Regions from separate parts of the Homo sapiens genome. Here region 2 is linked to region 1. The links are contacts of gene promoters, found by promoter capture Hi-C in human tissues and cell types (Jung and others, 2019). All regions are on one chromosome and are shown on one strand. The core of a region is centred on a gene start or on the middle of the fragment in contact, and the rest is flanking DNA. Distances in the headings are between cores, read along the strand shown.

Region 1 (4,647 bases), core at 1,050-3,549:
CACCTGATGAGTTTTAGGCACAGACTCAGTTTAGCTTGGATCAAATTCACTAAGTGTGGAACTGACATTCAGGGCTTTTCAAGTGGGAAGTGAAACCATTTCCCAAAAAAAGCTTGGTGCCTGTGGGGTCCTGTGTTGGGCGTCTCCAAGATGACCAGGAGTGCACTGCTTCCCTCGGAGGAGAACCAGCACCACAGGGTGGCCGTGGCCACCAAAGCACACACCCTTTACACCTGCCTCAGAGGTCGGGGCTTCCAGGAGGGAGGGAGGGAGACAAAGCCACACACCACAAGAGGGGAAGCAGGAAAGCTGGGGACTTGTATCAGGGATGGCTTCCGAGGCACCCCGCCCCGCCTTCCCACCACGTTCTAAGTGCTGATTTCTCCCAGGGACCTGAAAAGAAGGATGAGGAGACAGAATCCACCAGTGTGGCCTGCCCGAGCTCCACGTAGCAAAGCCTGTCTTCAGTTTCTCATTTTTGTCCCTCTGGTGTCTCCCTCTGCCCCAGTCCCCTCCCCTTGACCTCCACTGCCAAGTCATCCTGTCCCTTCACTTCTGACCAGTCTGCCGCATTGGCCACTGCCACAGCCGCCGTCACCAGAAAAGCAACTGCTAGGTGCTAGGGATGCAGTGGCAAGCAAGACAGGGTCGCTGCCCTCTCAGAGGGGAGCACAAAACGCATAGGAACCAGGTATGTTGAGAAGTTACAGTCTAATGCAGAGAATTGGCTGACGCGGAGGACGGATCCCATAGCCAAGGGTAGCTAAAAAGCCCTCCTTGATGGAGGGACGTTTGAGCAAGAACTGAGTGAGGAATGGCACCTTGCGTGAAGACCTGGGGTCTCTGCAGGCCGTGGGCAGAGTCAGGCAGCTCCAGGGCAGGAGAGAGGGGAGAAAGAAGGGAGACGGGGGCCCAGCAGGTTTACAGTAGGAAGAGGCCAGCCCGGCTAGTGAAAGAGCTAAGGGTTTTGTTGGTTTTTTTTGAGACAGTGTCTCTGTCACCCAGACTCTAGTGCAGTGGCACAATTATAGCTCACTGCAGCCTGGAACTCCTGGGTTCAAGCGATCCTCCGGCCTCGGCCTCCCCAGTAGCTGGGACTACAGGCGTGCAGGGCCCGGCTAATTTATTTTTTGTAGAGATGTGGTATCTTTTGTTGCCTGGGCTGGTCTGGAACTCCTGGCCTCAAGCGATCCTCCCGCCTTGGCCTCCCAAAGCGTTGGGACTACAGGCGTGAGCCACCGGCCAGAGTTTTCTGAGCCCCCTGGAGATCTATGCGGGGGTGGGGGACAAGGGGGTCTGGCAGAGGCGGTGAAAGAATCTGACCTTTGGTAAAAGGCCACTCCTACCGCCCCTTCCCTGGTGGGCTGCGGAAGGCTGGGGAGGAAGCATGAACGGCAGCTGGAGACTGTCTCCGTGCTCAGGATGCCGGGCGGCGGCGGCGGCGGGGTCGAAGCGAGATGAGTCTCAGGTGTGCGAGCACCGCGGGCTGTGGACGAGAGGCCCGGGCGGGCGGCGGTGCCATTCACCGAGAAGGGCGCACAGCAGGTGGCTTGGTTCCGTCCCAGGAGGTTTCAGCCCAGGCTGCGCCGCGGCCCGGGTGGCCCCTGTCCCGCCGCGGGCGTCCCCAGGCGCTGGCCGCACGGCCTCGCCCCGCCGCCCTCCGAGCCGCGGAGACCCCAGAGCCCGGCTCTCCACCCGCCGCGGAGCGCACGACCCCGTCTGGTGGGGCGCGGGTCCTGAGGCTGCGCTCGGCCTTGGGCGGCAGCCGCCTCGGATCCCCACAGGACTCGGTGACCCAAAACGCCCTGGCGCGGGCAGGGGGCGAACTCTGGTTCATTCTTTCAACGCGACAGTCTCCGAAGGGCTGACGGCAGCAGAGACCCACTCTGCGGGGACCCCCGGGCCGGGGTTGGCAGCAGCGCTGCGCGTCGGGCGCGGGCGGCCCAGGCTGGCGGGGTCTACCGCGCCCGGCTCCAGCCTCTGTCCCCAGCCTGGAGAACCGAAGCCGAGCGGCCCGTGGGCCCCGAGCCGTGCCCGCCGAGGCCAGACTCGCGCCGCACCCGGGCGGGGCCGGCGTCCTCGCGGGGACCCTGGGGGACCGGGGAGCGGGCCGCGGGGTGCAAAGGCACGGCCGCCCTGGCGACGCCCCTCCCTGCACGGTGACCCAGCCTCCCTCACAGCAGCGGCGTCCCGGCCCCCAACCTACCTGAGCGTGACGCCGGGGTACGGGCGTGGAGCTCGTGCAGCGGAGCCAGGGCGGATGGCGCCCAGGTGCGCGGAGCTCTCGGGGCTCGGGAGTGGGCGGGGCTTCTGGAGGAGGTGGGAATTTGGGGCGGGGTTCTGGCGGGGGCGGGTTTGGGGCCTCCCCGGACCCAGCCGCGGGTCTCCGCAGCGCCGGAGGCTGGACGCACGCGTCCCGCGCCCGGTCCTGGGGTCCGCACGAGCCGGGTCGGGCAGAGGCTGCTCCTCCTCCCCAGGACGCCGGCGCCACACCCGCCCCCCGACGCGTGCGGCGGGACAGAAGCGGAGGCGGGAGTGCTGGGAACAGCCTTTACTGCCCACGCCCTACACGGCGAACATGCGCAGAGCCTCCTCCGCCGAGCGGCACTGGTTCAGCTGGATCTGCACCTCTACGGTCAGGGGCTCAGGGTGGTAATCGCCTTCGTAGATCGGAATCACGGCTTTCGGCTTTTCTGAGAAAATTTAAGTGCGAGCATGAGCCCCGGGAGACGGATGGGCTGGCGTTCTCGGCCGCCCTGACCCATCCCATATGCAAGCCCTGGACCCTGTCCCAGCGGGAGCACAGTTTTGGTCCTCGGGTGTTAACAGTAATAAGAAATAAAATTAAATTGTATTTAATTAGATCATTTAATAAATCGCAGCTGTTTGAGTTGCAAGACTGGCTGCTTTTTGCTTTGAGACAGTGTCGTGCTCCGTCGCCCAGGCTGGAGTGCGGTGGCATGATCCCGGCTCACTGCAACCTCCGCCTCCCAGGTTCAAGCGATTCTCCTGCGTCAGCCTCCAAGTAGCTGGGATTACAGGCGCCTGTCACCACGACCGGCTATTTTTTGTAGTTTTAGTAGAGACGGGGTTTCACCATGTTGGCCAGCCTGGTCTCGAACTCCTGACCTCAAGTGATCCGCCTGCCTAGGCCTCCCAACGTGCTAGGATCACAGGCGTACACTACCGAGCCCAGCTGCAGATATTTTCTTAAAAATGAAGTAATTATAGCACTTCAGGGGAAACAACTGAAAGCATTTCAATAAATGTATAACATTTGCCCTAAAAATGAGACAACATTGTATCTGCCACCATGAATTTACCAATTTTCCAATACGCAAAGACCTTTCTAATGATGTGGGTGGTGATAGTAAAGAACGTGATCTTTGGAAAATGTATAGTGACAGGTGTCAACTGTTGGAATATCTGCATAAGTCTGTTAACCTGTAGTTTACAAGTAACTCATGCATGTTACAAACTGCATGGTAAAATATCCGTTCAAAATGCAAACTAGATTAATGAATTTTAATCTGATTATGAAAAATTCAATATAGATTGTTTTCACATTGTAACAACCTTTAAGAAATTACCACTTGTCAAATTTGGTGTAATATTAAAGAAATTATATTATTTTAAGGTCTATTAAAATACTCCCTCTTTTCCAATTATGGGCCTGAGGTTGGATTTTCTTTGTGCACGTCAATTACAGCAACATATTGCAAGCAGTTGACTGCAGAAGTAGCTGTAAGAATCCAGCTGTCTTCAATTAAGCCAAACATTAAAGAGATTAAAAAAAAAAAAACCTTTTTAAGGCCATCTTAACCCACAGATAAGTATCACAAATCACATGTTCATATAGGCATGGGTTTTGAAGTCCAGCAGCATATGCCCTCCAACGTTTACTTCTTCAGGCTGGCGTGAAATGGCGCGATCTCAGCTCACTGCCACCTCTGCCTTCCAGGTTCAAGCGACTCTCCTGCCTCAGTCTCCTGAGTAGCTGGGATTACAGGCACCCACCACCGCACCTGGCTAATTTTTGTGTTTTCAGTAGAGACGGGGTTTCACCATGTTGGCTAGGCTGGTCTCGAACTCCTCACCTCAGGTGATCCGCACGCCAAAGTGCTGGGATTACAGGCGTGAGCCACCATGTTGGGCCTGTTTCCACTTTTCGGCTTCAGTATGATGGGTTGCTCTGCTATGATCGGGCCTCATGCTTTTTGCAGCCACCTCCCACGGCACTCCCTGTCTCCTTTCTCTCCCTCCCAGTTGGTTGTTCTTTCTGAACCTCAAACCTGAGACGCACCCATTTCAGATGCTTCTCCAGCTCCCCACAGGACAAGCCCAGGCCCCTCTTACAGCAAATAAGGGCCGATGGCCTGAAGCTGGAGGCAGACACCTCGGAACCAGATGAGCCCCAGGCAGCCCCAGCTCCAAGCTCTTGCCCCGCTATGGCTCTACCACAGGTGCCTTCCCCACCCTGGTCACCACCCACACAGGCCCTGTGGTCTGAGGGCTGCAGAGAAGAAATAATAACACTGGATCTAAGGGGGGATGTGGCCTCTCCCCAGGCCAGAAGCTACCATTCCCCACCCTTTGGTTCCTTTGGCCTCCCCCAGGGCTGGCCCTCAGCAGGTCCTCCTGACAATC
Region 2 (4,647 bases), core at 840-3,339, 140 kb before region 1:
CTTGTTCTCAAATATCTAGTTACTAGGCTTTCTAAATAATTTTTTGTTATTGTTGTTTTACTTTAGCTCTCTTCCTGCCTTCTTCCCTGGCCTCTTGGAGAAGGAAATGGAAACATGGGCTGTGTTTCATGAGAGTTAAAAACTTTCACCCCAGTTACCTTTTTATCTTGGAAGGCTGATCTCTGCATCTCCCTCCTTCCTGTCGCTCGGGGGATTGAAACCTCAGTGGACACTGGGCGCAGTGGCTCTTGCTTCTTATCCCAGCACTTTGGGAGGCTGAGGCAGGCAGATTACTTGAGGTCAGGAGTTTGAGACCAGCCTGGCCAACATGGTGAAACCCTGTCTTTACTGAAAATACAAAAATTGGCTGGGCCTGGTGGCGCATGCCTGTAATCTCAGGTACATGGGAGGCTGAGGCAGGAGGATTGCTTGAATCCAGGAAATGGAGTTTGCAATGAGCTGAGATCGTGCCACTGCACCCCAGCCTGGGTGACAGAGTGAGACTCTGTCTGGAAAAAACAAAACAAAACAAAAAAACCCTCAGTGGTGAGGAGGGAAATGCATGTTGGGAACAGAATGGCTTCTTCCTGCCCTGAGCTCATTGTGCTTAGCCCTTGGAGCCAGGACATTACTCAGGTTTTAGTTTATTTATATATTAAAGCACCTATATAGTGCATACTTCATGCCAGACACTATTCTAAGTGCTTTGCAGGTATTCAGTCTCAACACAACCCTAGGAGGTAGGGAATATTAGTGTCCCCATTTTACAGACAAGAACACTGAGGCGCAGAGAAGTTAAATAACTTGCCTAAGATAAAACAGCAAATAGTAATAATGGAGGCAGGATTTGCATCTAGGACATTTGGCCCCAGAGTCTGTGCTCTTAAGCACCACAGGATGGAGTCCGTCTATTATGGAAGTTGTTTTGTGCGTAAAGATTAAGAAATGGCCAGGCGCGGTGGCTCATGCCTGTAATCCCAGCACTTTGGGAGGCTGAGGTGGGTGGATCACCTGAGGTTGGGAGTTTGAGACCAGCCTGGCCAACATGGAGAAACCCCATCTCTACTAAAAATACTAAAATTATCCGGGCGTGGTGACACATGCCTGTAATCCCAGCTACTAGGGAGGCTGAGGCAGGAGAATCACTTGAACCTGGGAGGCAGAGGTTGCGGTGAGCCGAGATCACGCCATTGCACTCCAGCCTGGGCAACAAGAGCGAAACTCTGTCTCAAAAAAAAAAAAAGAAAAAGAAATAGTCACTTACATGTAAGATATGTAGTCACATACCCTTTTAAATCATGAATTTGTCTGTCAGTGACTAAATTGCCCAGATTCTTAACTTTAGAATTCCAAAAATTACTCTGTCTCTAATCAAATTTGCTATCCTGATTTTTAAAAAAATTTCTAGTGTTTGTAGAAATTTCTCTTGTTGAGAATTAATTGACTGATCTAAAAATCTAGACAATTTTTCTTTTCTAAATCATGTGTTTTTATTTTTTAAGAAGAAGGAACTATCGGCCTCTGAACTAAAGATTTCTCCTGTGTATTTGGTAAGAAAACAAAAAAAGAGTGGGCCAGGCATGGTGTTTCATGCCTGTAATCCCAGCACTTTGGGAGGCCAAGGCAGGAGGATCACCTGAGTCCAAGAATTCAAGACCAGCCTGGGCAAGGTGGTGATACCCTGCTTCTACAAAAAATAAAAAAAAAAATTAGCTGGGTGTGGTGGCTACATGGCAGGCTGAGGTGGAAGGATCTCTTGAGCCCAGGAGGTCGAGGCTTGCAGTGAGCCATGTTCATGTCTCTGCACTCCAGCCTGGGCAATAGAGCAAGACCCTGTTTCAAAAAAAAAAAAAAAAGTGGCAATTTGGTGCTGTTTCCTCATTAACTGAGAGCCAAATAATTGATCCGGGAAATACAATGGACTAATGAGATTGAGTTCCTTTAGTGTGATGGCTTTTGAAGTAATATATTTTTTTAAAACATGTAAACTCCTCTCCCGTATCTTAGTTTTGTCAGCAAACAATTTTGATGTTTTTTTTCCTGCTCTAGATAAGGCATTCAGTTACACCATGGTTTATCCAAGTATTTCAGTGTAAAGCTTATATCTTTCCATAACGAAGTATGTCTTCTGTTGATCCTCACTCTTGGGTTCCCAAGTGTTAAGATAACCAGCTACCCATGTAAGTTTCATATCACCTATGTTACTTTTTAGGAAGTGCTTTAGAATACTTTCTAGCCAATAAATCCAGTTTCCAAACAGTGTGCTTGGTGCTGTAGAGATGTTAGGAAGAATAAGAAATAATTTCTGACTTAATTCATGGTCTCAAACTAGTGGGAGAAGCAGACATACCACATAGTTTTGAATTAGGGCAGATTTTGGGAAATGAAAAATAAATTGCTGTACTTTATAGGGAAATGCCACGGAAAGTAAAATCACATTGGTATTTATTATTTTTACTTATTTTTTACTTGGCATTTTTCTCTACTTGACTGTTTTGTTGTAACTAAGAACCATTGCCCTATTGGGTTTAATGTATTTATGCTACAGACCTTGCAGCAATGGGGTTTATTAGTGTTTTGTGTTTTTTTTTCTTTTATTTAGCAAATTCTGCCAGATCCTGATGGGTTTATTAATGTTTTGTATGTTATTTTGACGTAACAAACTCTTGGACTCTTCCTTCCCCAGAAAATCATGTGTAAATGAATTAACATCTTTAACCTGATGAGTCTATAACCACGAAGCACAGCAATTATAGTCAGCTCTGAAATATTTAATTTTATTTACTTTGATTATGCAGTTTTGGAGACTCAGTGCTTTCTTTTCCTCTTCTCTTATGGGCATTTTAATCTTTATTGGTGTCACAGCCTGTAGGGTGGACAGAGGAAATGAAAGAAAACATATCTGTTATTTTCTGTCTCAAAGAAAGGCAGTGTGGGAGAGGAGTCTTAAATTCAGAAGAATATTTAACATTTTTTTGTAGAGATGGAGTTCTCGCTGTGTTGCCCAGGCTGATCTTGAACTCCTGGCCACAAGTGATCCTCTTGCCTTGGCCTCCCAAAGTGCTAGGTATATAGGCATGTACCACCTCACCCAGCCAATCACAGGAGTTTTGATCCTTGAAATATGGGACTCACTGCTGTTTTAAAATTATTTTGTTCCCTTTCATTTCCCAGATTAGTCCAAGAATTTTTGTGATGGAAGCTATTTTCCACACATCCTATGTACTAAATGGACTGCATAGCAGGTAGCAGAGGGAAGTAATTTTCTAGCAATGAAAGGGCACAGGTTAAGAAAGTGTTTTTCTAGCCCTGGGGTATTTATTTAAAGGAAGAAGATTCTTGGGTACTATCCCGGAGCTCAAATAGAATCGAAGTACATGGGAATAGGTAGAAACTTGCAGGTTAGATGTACATTCCAGGTGATTCATGTGCGTACTAATGTCTGAGAACCACTGGGTTAGGGGGTTAGGGGAAGAAGATGTTTACATCAAAATGCTGATAGAATTATCATATCTAAAAAGGGGATTTTGTGTAAGATTCTTGTGTATTATTGCAGGTAAGTAATCATTCTTACTTTGTGTTTTAATAAAATGATCAGTAGGCCAGGCGTGGTGGCTCACGCCTGTAATCCCAGCACTTTGGGAGGCCAAGGTGGGTGGATCACTGGAGGTCAGGAGTTCGAGACCAGCCTGACCAACATAGTGAAACCCCGTCTCTACTAAAAATGCAAAATTAGCCAGGTCTGGTGGCACATGCCTGTAATCCCAGCTACTTGGAAGGCTGAGGCAGGAGAATCGCTTGAACCTGGGAGGTGGAGGTTGCAGTGAGCTGGGATCGCGCCATTGCACTGGGCAACGAAAGCAAAACTCCATCTCAAAAAAAAAAAAAAAAAAAGTTTAGTAAATTAATTCTTCATTCTTCAATTGAGGCTTTCATTCTACAGGTGATGTGTTATTCATTGAAACATTTGATAGGTAATTTTAGACCTTTTATGCAAGTGCTGTCCAATAGAAGTATAATGTAAGCCACACATGTACAATTTATAATTTTCTGGTACCCACATTACTTTTTTGTAAGTCACAAGTTAAATTAGTTTTAATAATATATTTTATGTAACTGATATATTCAAAATATTAATCAAAATAAAATTATTAAGATATTTTAAACATTTTAAAATATAATTTCAGTTTGTTTTTTTTTTTTTTTAGAGACAGAGTCGTGCTCTGTCTCCCAGGCTGGAGTACAATGGCACAATTACTCACTATAGCCTCAACCTCCTAGACTCAAGCAATCCTCCCGTCTTAGCCTCCCAAGTACCTGTTACCACAGGCGACACCACCATGCCTGGCTAATTTTTTATTTTTTGCAAAGACGGGGTCTTGCTGTGTTGCCGAGACTGATCTTGAACTCCTGGCCTCAAGTGATCCTTCTGCCTCGGCCTCCCAAAGTGGTGGGATTACAGGCGTGAGCCACTGCACTTGGCCCACAAGACATTTTGTGATCCTTTTCTTCTAAGTCTTCAAAATCTGATGTGTATTTTGCACTTATACCACACCTCACTTCAGATGAGCCACATCTCAAGTGCTCAATAGCCACGTGTGGCCAACAGCTACTGTTCCGGATGGCACAGTTCTATAAGATCACCTC

Evidence for each region. Contacts are between HindIII fragments. The study calls those that stand out against the background at their distance.
Region 2: a contact is called between a fragment that was not itself captured here and the fragment with the promoter of B3GNT4 in region 1, in 5 of the 25 tissues and cell types used here (lymphoblastoid cells, mesenchymal stem cells, small bowel and 2 more).

The regions. Positions count from the first base shown.
Region 1 is chr12:122,201,361-122,206,007 of GRCh38, reverse strand. B3GNT4 (UDP-GlcNAc:betaGal beta-1,3-N-acetylglucosaminyltransferase 4) reads right to left here and starts at 2,299. Exons shown (of 3, transcript NM_030765.4): 1 at 2,207-2,299; 2 at 1,324-1,486. The coding sequence starts at 1,389. LRRC43 (leucine rich repeat containing 43) reads right to left here. Exons shown (of 12, transcript NM_001098519.2): 12 at 2,537-2,693. The coding sequence ends at 2,566. RefSeq lists a silencer at 1,985-2,614. The HindIII fragment of the contact is 16,495 bases long and covers 1-4,647 here.
Region 2 is chr12:122,342,386-122,347,032 of GRCh38, reverse strand. All of the region lies in intron 10 of CLIP1 (CAP-Gly domain containing linker protein 1), which reads left to right. Among named protein-coding and RNA genes, the nearest start is that of CLIP1-AS1, 51 kb to the left of the region's middle. The HindIII fragment of the contact is 6,248 bases long and covers 1-4,647 here.